2 separate regions of the Homo sapiens genome follow, and region 2 is linked to region 1. Evidence: promoter capture Hi-C in human tissues and cell types (Jung and others, 2019). All regions are on one chromosome and are shown on one strand. Each heading gives the region's core, a stretch centred on a gene start or on the middle of the fragment in contact. The rest is flanking DNA. Distances are from core to core; before and after follow the strand shown.

Region 1 (4,316 bases), core at 1,499-3,998:
GGACATCCAGGTGCCTTGGACCCTACCTGCTACCCATTGCCCATGCCATTCAATGAATGAAACCCCACCTGGGCGATTCAGCCGGCTTAGCCACCCAGGGGCAAATCAAACACAACCTGAAAAGCAAAGTCAGCCCAATGCAGCACACAGGTGGCTTCAGAGGTCCCGGTGTGCACAGAACAGAGTGGGAGGAGGACCTCAGCCCTTGCCACACCTCTGCTCTCGCCAGGAGAGCCCCTTGCTGGCCAGCACTGCCTTGTCCTCTGCAGGCTTGGCTCCCTCTAACCACACACACCAGGGAGCCCAGCAAACACCCAAGATCGTGTGCCTGGCCCACCTGGGGCAAACCCTCGAGGCCCGGCAGTCCATCTCTGTAACCGTCAGCTACCTCACATGAGCAGGATCCATCCCCTAAGCTCTCAGAGCATTGCTGTGCCTGTGAGATGGCCGGCACACAGCTGACCTCAAGGCCTGCCATCAACACCTTCATGAGTGCTACATCCCAGGCCCTCTCTGTCCCCTCTTCCTTGTCACCCTCAGGACAAGCCTGAGAGCAAGCTGAGAGGGCAATGGGTCAGCGGTCCACGACCTACCCAGGGAGTGGCCGGGTGTGATCCATGCTACAGTGGGTCTGACCCCGGAGCCCCTGTCCCGGGATAAGACGCAGCACAGCCTGGATTTACGAGCCCCACTGTTTGGGTTCAAATTCCAACTTCACCACTAACAGAGTGTGCGACCTTGGGTTACTCGGCCACTTTTCTGGGGCCATTTCCCTCCTGCTCCATGGGGGAGGGAGGAATAGAATACTGTGGGGGCTCTTGTGGAGATTTGAGCTGAGAACCTCCATGAAGCGCTCAGAACAGGGGCTGGGGGACAGCAGCCGCCTTCCTCATTTCCCCACCTCCCTGATCGCATCAGCCACTCTCTTCCCCATGTCCCTGGAAGGGGCTGCAGAGGGGTAGGGGTGGAACCAGAGGCTGCCATCGCCCCCACCCGGTTTGGGTCGTGTCCCCCAGTGCAGCCTCTGCCATCGCCCTCAAGAGCATTTATCACGCATTTACCACGGATCTTTAAAACGAAAGCTGCAGGGGAGGGTAATTAAGTTTAATAGGAGCCGCCGTCGATTTAAAGCCACAGGGGGGAAGTAATTAGATTTAACAGAAGCCACGGCTTTCTGAACCAAGACACACAGCGTGGGGGTCCCTGGTCTAGAAAGCCTTCGGGATGATGTCTTTTTGTAAAGACTTTCCTGGTGACATTTGCTGCGCCCTCAGTCATTAACGCCAGTCACTGACTGGGGAATGAATGTGGCCTCTGCTCATTGAAATTCATTAGGCCTGGCATTTCTCTCGCTGTCTCTCCTGTTTGCCCTCCCCATCGCCTTTGCGCTGGGCCAGGAGGGCTCTGCCCCCAAAACCAGCCTCCTGGGGCCCCACATCCAGGAGCTGGGGGTTTGGAAGAATAACAAGAAATAATTAGAGTTAAACCAAAGCCCCGTAGGAGGACCCCTTTATTCCCCGCCTGGGTATTCTCTGGATGTCGTTTTCTTTATTGGCAGGAACCGCTTCATGGAGCGGCCCCCATTTCTTTCCTCACCTGGCACCTGCCCGGACGCCAGGGGCGCCCATCACCGTTCCTGGGCCCCTTCCCGACCCCTCCCCACCAGGTAAGGCGCTCTCGACCTCCCCGACCGTGCTGTTCCTCCTGACCCCGTGCGCAGGGACTCGGGGACTCAAAAACCAGACCCCCGACACAAGACAGCTCAAAAAACGGGAAACGGAGGCCCAGGCCTCCCTCCCTGCGCCCCTGCCTCCACCACCCTCCAGCCGAGAAGCTGGGGTTCACCAATCCCGCAGCTGGCCCGCCCACCCTGCCCGAGAGCCTCCTTCCCAGTGCCCCCTTTCAGGTTGCATCTCGCGCACAGCCGCGGGGCCGGGGCGAGCGCGGAGCAGGCAGGGGCGCGGGGCCAGGAGCGCAAAGCCCAGGCGGACGCCGAGGCTGCGGCGCCACCTACAGTCCGCGCGGCTTCCATTGTTTCCCCGCCGGCCGAGAGCGCGCCCGGCCCCCCGTCGGGGGGCAATTTACCCGGATAAAAGGGGCGGGGCAGGAATTGCAAGAAGATGAAGCTGAAAGAACCTGAGACTGTCGGAACTGCCGGGGAAAATTCTACGGGACGGCTTTGACGTCAGATGTGCGGGGCTGCGAAAGTCGGGGGAGGGAGTGCGAGTGGGCTTTTAAGGGGAAGGGCACTAAGGCCGAGGTGAGGCTTTTCCCGACAGAGGGTGAAGGGGGCAAAACTCGGTGCCCCCCAACCTCTGGCCCCGGGGTTCCTGACCCCGCCCCCGCTAGTGCCCCACGCCGAGTGCATCCACTGGGAGCCTGAGGCCTGGGGGAAGGGCCCCAGTTGTCGATTGCTTTACAAAGTCAAACTCTCCCAGCCAAGAACCTCGGGGCCGCTGCGCGGTGGGGAGGAGTTCCCCGAAACCCGGCCGCTAAGCGAGGCCTCCTCCTCCCGCAGATCCGAACGGCCTGGGCGGGGTCACCCCGGCTGGGACAAGAAGCCGCCGCCTGCCTGCCCGGGCCCGGGGAGGGGGCTGGGGCTGGGGCCGGAGGCGGGGTGTGAGTGGGTGTGTGCGGGGGGCGGAGGCTTGATGCAATCCCGATAAGAAATGCTCGGGTGTCTTGGGCACCTACCCGTGGGGCCCGTAAGGCGCTACTATATAAGGCTGCCGGCCCGGAGCCGCCGCGCCGTCAGAGCAGGAGCGCTGCGTCCAGGATCTAGGGCCACGACCATCCCAACCCGGCACTCACAGCCCCGCAGCGCATCCCGGTCGCCGCCCAGCCTCCCGCACCCCCATCGCCGGAGCTGCGCCGAGAGCCCCAGGGAGGTGCCATGCGGAGCGGGTGTGTGGTGGTCCACGTATGGATCCTGGCCGGCCTCTGGCTGGCCGTGGCCGGGCGCCCCCTCGCCTTCTCGGACGCGGGGCCCCACGTGCACTACGGCTGGGGCGACCCCATCCGCCTGCGGCACCTGTACACCTCCGGCCCCCACGGGCTCTCCAGCTGCTTCCTGCGCATCCGTGCCGACGGCGTCGTGGACTGCGCGCGGGGCCAGAGCGCGCACAGTGAGTGCCCGCCAGCACCCCCGCCCGCCCCGCCGCGCGCACCCCACCCCGCTGCGCGCGCCCCACCCCAGCGCCCTTCCTTCCTTTGCCACCCTTAGGCTCCTGCGGACCCCTCAACTCCTGGGAACCCCAGGTTTTGGCACCTGGACGTTAGGATCCCTCCGTTAGTCCCCAAACAGCGCGGGACGCTAGGGAGAAGCACAGGCTTGTGGACCGACCGCACCCACGTGGTGCGGGCCCAGCGGTCCTTGCTGCAGCTTCTCGCTTCCCCTGCGCCTAGGTTTGCTGGAGATCAAGGCAGTCGCTCTGCGGACCGTGGCCATCAAGGGCGTGCACAGCGTGCGGTACCTCTGCATGGGCGCCGACGGCAAGATGCAGGGGCTGGTAAGTGTCCCCACGGGGCGGATGCGCCGGGGCGGGGGACCGGCGCCTGTCCCCGGGCGGAGGCCTGAAGGAGAGAAAGGCGCTGGTTCGAATCCAGGGTTTCCTCGCCTCCTCCGCCCAGACCCGCGTGCAACTTCGAGGGAAAGATTGCAAAGACCGATTAAGTGCATGTCCGACGATTTCCTACGGAAATTTAGGGTCTCAGCCAGCAGCCAGAGAATAGGCAAAAGCTGCCTTTGCATTTCCAATTGAGTCAAAGGCCGGCCTAGCCGGACCGAGGAAACCCATTATTCGGCCTCCTTTGATATTAAACAGGAAAACCCACCTCGGGCCTTTTCAGCCTCTGCCTGCGCGTGTGTGGTCCTCGCCTCCGTTTCCCTCCCTCCAGTATAAAAGAAGAAAAAAAGAATGGGAAAGAAAAAAGAGGATCTACCCATAACTTTCCTTTAAAAACAAATCAATTGTCAAGCAAGGCAGAAAACAGTGCATTTGGGATAGGAGAGATTTTTTTTTTAGAATTAATTTTTAATCTACCAGGAGCACGGTGTGGCTTAGACGCAGATGCGCTGGAGTCATGTTGCGCCAGGGGAGTGCTTTTCCTCCTGCGGGCCTCACCTGTCCTGTAAACGCTTTCTGGTGGGGGCAGGGGGTGGGGGCTGGCAGGGAAGGCCCAGGTAACCGCAGAGGTCCCGGGGCCGGAAGTGTACGAGCGCTGGGGCTCTGGTGGCCGGGAACAAAGGCTGGGAGTTCAAAGGAACGAACCCGCGCCCCTCCCGCGGCCCCGCGCGCAGAGGAGGCTGTGTGAGG
Region 2 (4,041 bases), core at 610-3,109, 160 kb before region 1:
CAAAATGCTCCTTTTCCCATGAGAAATTCCGGCCTTAATGGCACTGGATGACAAAGGCAGGCGCTCGCCCACCTCAAGCCCTTTTTTATGTGGGACCTAGCTCTGCCGGTGGACGGAAGAAGGGGCAAGGCACAAGGGATTCCAAAGGTGCACGGCCCCCATGAGTGGGGTGGGCCAGAGACTCCCTGGGTGCCCACAAGGGCCTGGGTCCCTGTCCCCATACAAGGGGTGGCAGCTCAGGACCTGGGCTTTGCTCTTCTGTTCCCCGTAAACAGCTCCCGCTTCCAGAGGGCGAGTTCGACTTTGAGTCAGATGCAAACTCCCCAGTTGAGGATGGTGACGATGACGATGATGATGTCACCACGCTGCTGCTGGCGGAGCACATGCTGGTGTCAGGCCCTGTGCCAGGCACATCAAACTGGCCTCAGCCGTGAGGGAAGCCTGTTTACACACCAGGCTGGACAAGGTTTTGGGACCAGGTCACGCATGGGGCAGCTGGAGCAGTGGGGCCCGGGCAAAGAGCCAGTGGGAGTCACTGGCCCGGATGCCATCCAGCTGAGTCCCTGGCCTGGCGGCTGAGGACAAGCCTTGAGGTCTCGCTGAGTCTCATCCGATAAATGGAACTCATGAAACCACCAGCCACTGCTGCAGCACAAGGCTGTTGCGAGGAACCACGGAAAAGGCCAAAGTGTTACACAGGGCAAGGCCTCAGCCCGTGCTCAGTGCTTAGAAAAGCTCAGGAAACATCTCCTCTCAGCCTCTGCTTCCCTGCCATGGAAATGCTGATGGAGCATCAGAATGGGGAAGGGGGCCGAACGTGAATGCCTGGTACAGCCGCCTGTGGCTAAGCCTGTGTTGATCTATTCCTCGCTCCCTGTTACTCAGACACGCTCGGGACCTGGCTAGGACCACACCTGATCATCTGACCCCATGGGCTGTGGCAGCAGGAACAAGCAGAGGGAAGAAAACGGTGGTGGGATGTCCAAGCTCATCCCCTTCGCAGCCAGCTGCTACCCACGTGATCATAAAATAGACACACACATGCCCTGTGGGAGGAATAAGCCCATCCGTTGATTGATTGACTCATTTCAAAGCCCTCTCTGTGGCATGCGCTGTGCATAGACTGGTGAACAGGATAGCCCCATCCTGAGTGAATCTGTGCTTGGTGAGAGGCAGGTAATGACGACACAGACAACAGGATGGTTTCGGATTGTGGTCGGTGTGTTAAAGACAGTGAAGCTGGGCGATGGTGGGAGGCGAAGGCGAGGGACATTGAGCCTGGGGAGACCTGTGGGAAGAACACATTTGTCAGCTCAGGAACAGAGAAAGTGTCAGTGTGGCTAAAGCAGTGTGTGGGGGAAGGCATGGGGTGGAGGGCACTGGTGGGGTGACTGACAAAGGCCTGGTTGTAGCAGGCCTTGCATGCCGGCCAAAGGAGCTTGGTTTTAGGCTGAATGCATAGAGGCTATGCAGACATTGCTCCAGCCTTGCAATGCTCCTACTCTAAAGCCTTCAATGGCTCCCTATTGCCTCCCAAAGGACCTCTTTCTTGCACAGGGATTCAAAGCCCTGTACAATCTGGGCCTAACACCCCTGATGATCAAAACTCCAGACATTCCGTTTAAGCTTCAGCCCACCGAGAGCCTCCCTGGCTCCTAAATGTCTCCCTTGTCCTGCCTCTGCACTGTTGCTAAGCCACGCTTCTGTCCAGAATGTCACAGGGAGCAAATGTCTTTCCACCAGAAACTGCACCATTCATTAAGGCCCTGTGAAAACCTCGACATCCCAGGAGGCTGCCCCAGCACCTTGCCCAGGCTGTCTGACACTGTCCAGTCTCCGTGGGTAAATTGCTGTGTGGCCTTAGGTGAGGCGTTGACTTCTCTTATCCTTCTCTGTAAAATGGGATAATAATAGTAACTACCTCCTGGGGTTGTTGCTAGGATTAAATGAAGATAAGGCACTATTAGAAATGGGAAACGGTTGGCATCACCATATTTTATAGAATATAAGGTATCACCAATTGTTGTAAGATACAACATTATTTTATACTCCACTAAGGGTGGAAAAAAGCTGATAGACCACGACACACTCCAGAAAGGCCCTTTAAGTGAGCAGAGGAGTTTGAGAACTGTCAGAATGTTAAGCTAAAGAAGCACAAGGACATATGTAGGCCCCAAGGAGCCTCTGGTGGCCATCTTTCTGAAATTCTGCCCTTGGAATTCTGAAGCTCGGAAAGACTGGCAAAAGCTACCCGTTTTTCCAGATGGAGAAACTGAGGCACAAAGAGGAGGAGGTCAAGCTTGTGATCACATGATGCGTTGAGCCTTTGAGCTGCAGATGGAATTGTGAGCATGGGGTGAGGGGCCTCCCTGGGGCATTGCCTGTTCCCAGAGGTGCCAGAGGCCACCGTGCTCCATGCTTTTCCTCCCCCACAGCCTGGCCACTGCAAGCCCCTACTCCTGCCATTTCTCCTGCTGCACCTCCGCCCCCACCCGCCATTGCATGCTCAGTGGCAGTCCTGGCAAATGTCTAGGAAATAGAGTTTTCAGGGGTCAGTTCTCATGGTAAACATAAGAATCAGGGGGTCAGGGTTGACCTCAGGGATCCTGGGGTGAGCCCTTTTGTGACACCCCCGCCTTCCACACATCCACTTACTTAGTTCGAAGTCACATCTCCTGGGTGCAGCCAAAGGGAAATGGAGATAAAACACCGAGAGTTGTGGGCCAGCAGGGGAGATGGGCAGGTAAACAGCAGGAGCTTACTGGGACACCAGCAGGGGAGGGGGGATCTGGGCAGACTTCCTGGAGGAGGTGGCTGTGGTGGAGTCGAGCCCCGCAGGTGGACAGAAAGGTGGGCTGCAGCAGGCCAGGTGCTGGCAGGAAGCACGGCCCGGCTTGTCTCTTGCAGGCCCGTGGGATTCCACTCCAGGGTGCTGCTCTCAGGACGGAGGCTTGAGTCGGTTCTGGCCCCTGGTTTCTTCTCTTCAATACGCCCACCTTGTCGGGTGCCTTGGGTTCTCCCTCCACGGGAGCCTGTTGTATGCGGGGCTCCCACAGCTGTCTCATGACTGGGCCCAAGCCAAAGAGAGGGGCTGAGAACCCAGCTTTGTGACTCACCGGCTGTGTGACCGTGAGTAGGAAGCCACCCCTCTCTGGGCTGACAGCACCTTGCTCCTGATGTCCAGAGCTCAGGCCATCACCCCGTCCTTGCCAGTATCTCCACCCCAGTGAGAGAGGAAACGGATGCCAACCCGGGGCTCTGACCCCCAAAGGCCAGGCTCTTTTCAGTCCCTGTGCACCCGCCACCCACTCACATCCATGCCCCAGCGGCTGCCTCTGCAGTCCCAGGGACCCTCCTGGCTGAGCCTCCCCCCATCACCCCATCCACCATTCTGTGCTGGGCACGAGCTCGGTCTCCACCATGGGAAGGTGCCCAGCCAGCCCTGGGCTTCACCTCCAGCAGCTGCCTCTGCCTACAGTCTCTCCTGCATCCCCACTCCCGGGCATGGCTGGGCTCTTCTCCACCCTCTGCTCAGAGGTCACCCTCCCGCCCTAACGCTGCTTCCACGTCCCCCTCCTACGCTGCTCCAGCTGCCTCCTGCTCACCTCTGCTTTACTTTCTTCCTCTCGCTTCTCCCCTCCCCAGAAACCAGACTGGGCACTGGTTCCCTCCCTCCCTGTGGTGTGAGCTCAGGGAAGGAGAGACCACGTGGATGGGTCCCACGGCACCTCCAGCCCTCAGAACGCACCTAGCATGGCCTTCTCTCTATTTCCTTGTATTTTCAATGATTTCACCCAAGACCAGAGATGCGGAGGGGCCTTCCCGAGGTCACACTGCAGGTCAAAGGGGCCTCCCTGGGGCTCTCTGCCCATTCCTAGAGGTGGCAGAGGCCACCGTGCTCCCTGCCTTTCCTCCCCCACAGCCTGGCCACTGCACGGCCCCTACTCCTGCCATTTCTGTCCCCCACTGCACCCACCCCACCCCCCCAAATGTTCAGTGGCAATCCTGGCAAATGTCTACAAAATCGAGTTTTCCCAGCAG

Evidence for each region. The method cuts DNA at HindIII sites, captures the fragments that hold promoters and counts their contacts. A contact is called where the count stands out against the background at its distance.
Region 2: a fragment that was not itself captured here is called in contact with the fragment with the promoter of FGF19 in region 1 in 2 of the 25 tissues and cell types used here (aorta and bladder).

Annotation. Positions count from the first base shown.
Region 1 is chr11:69,702,454-69,706,769 of GRCh38, reverse strand. FGF19 (fibroblast growth factor 19) reads left to right here and starts at 2,748. Exons shown (of 3, transcript NM_005117.3): 1 at 2,748-3,125; 2 at 3,406-3,509. The coding sequence starts at 2,894. RefSeq lists enhancers at 1-437, 977-1,339 and a promoter at 478-2,675. The HindIII fragment of the contact is 36,944 bases long and covers 1-4,316 here.
Region 2 is chr11:69,864,297-69,868,337 of GRCh38, reverse strand. No RefSeq gene overlaps it. Among named protein-coding and RNA genes, the nearest start is that of FGF3, 47 kb to the right of the region's middle. RefSeq lists enhancers at 1,908-2,465, 2,466-3,023, 3,024-3,581. The HindIII fragment of the contact is 4,926 bases long and covers 1-4,041 here.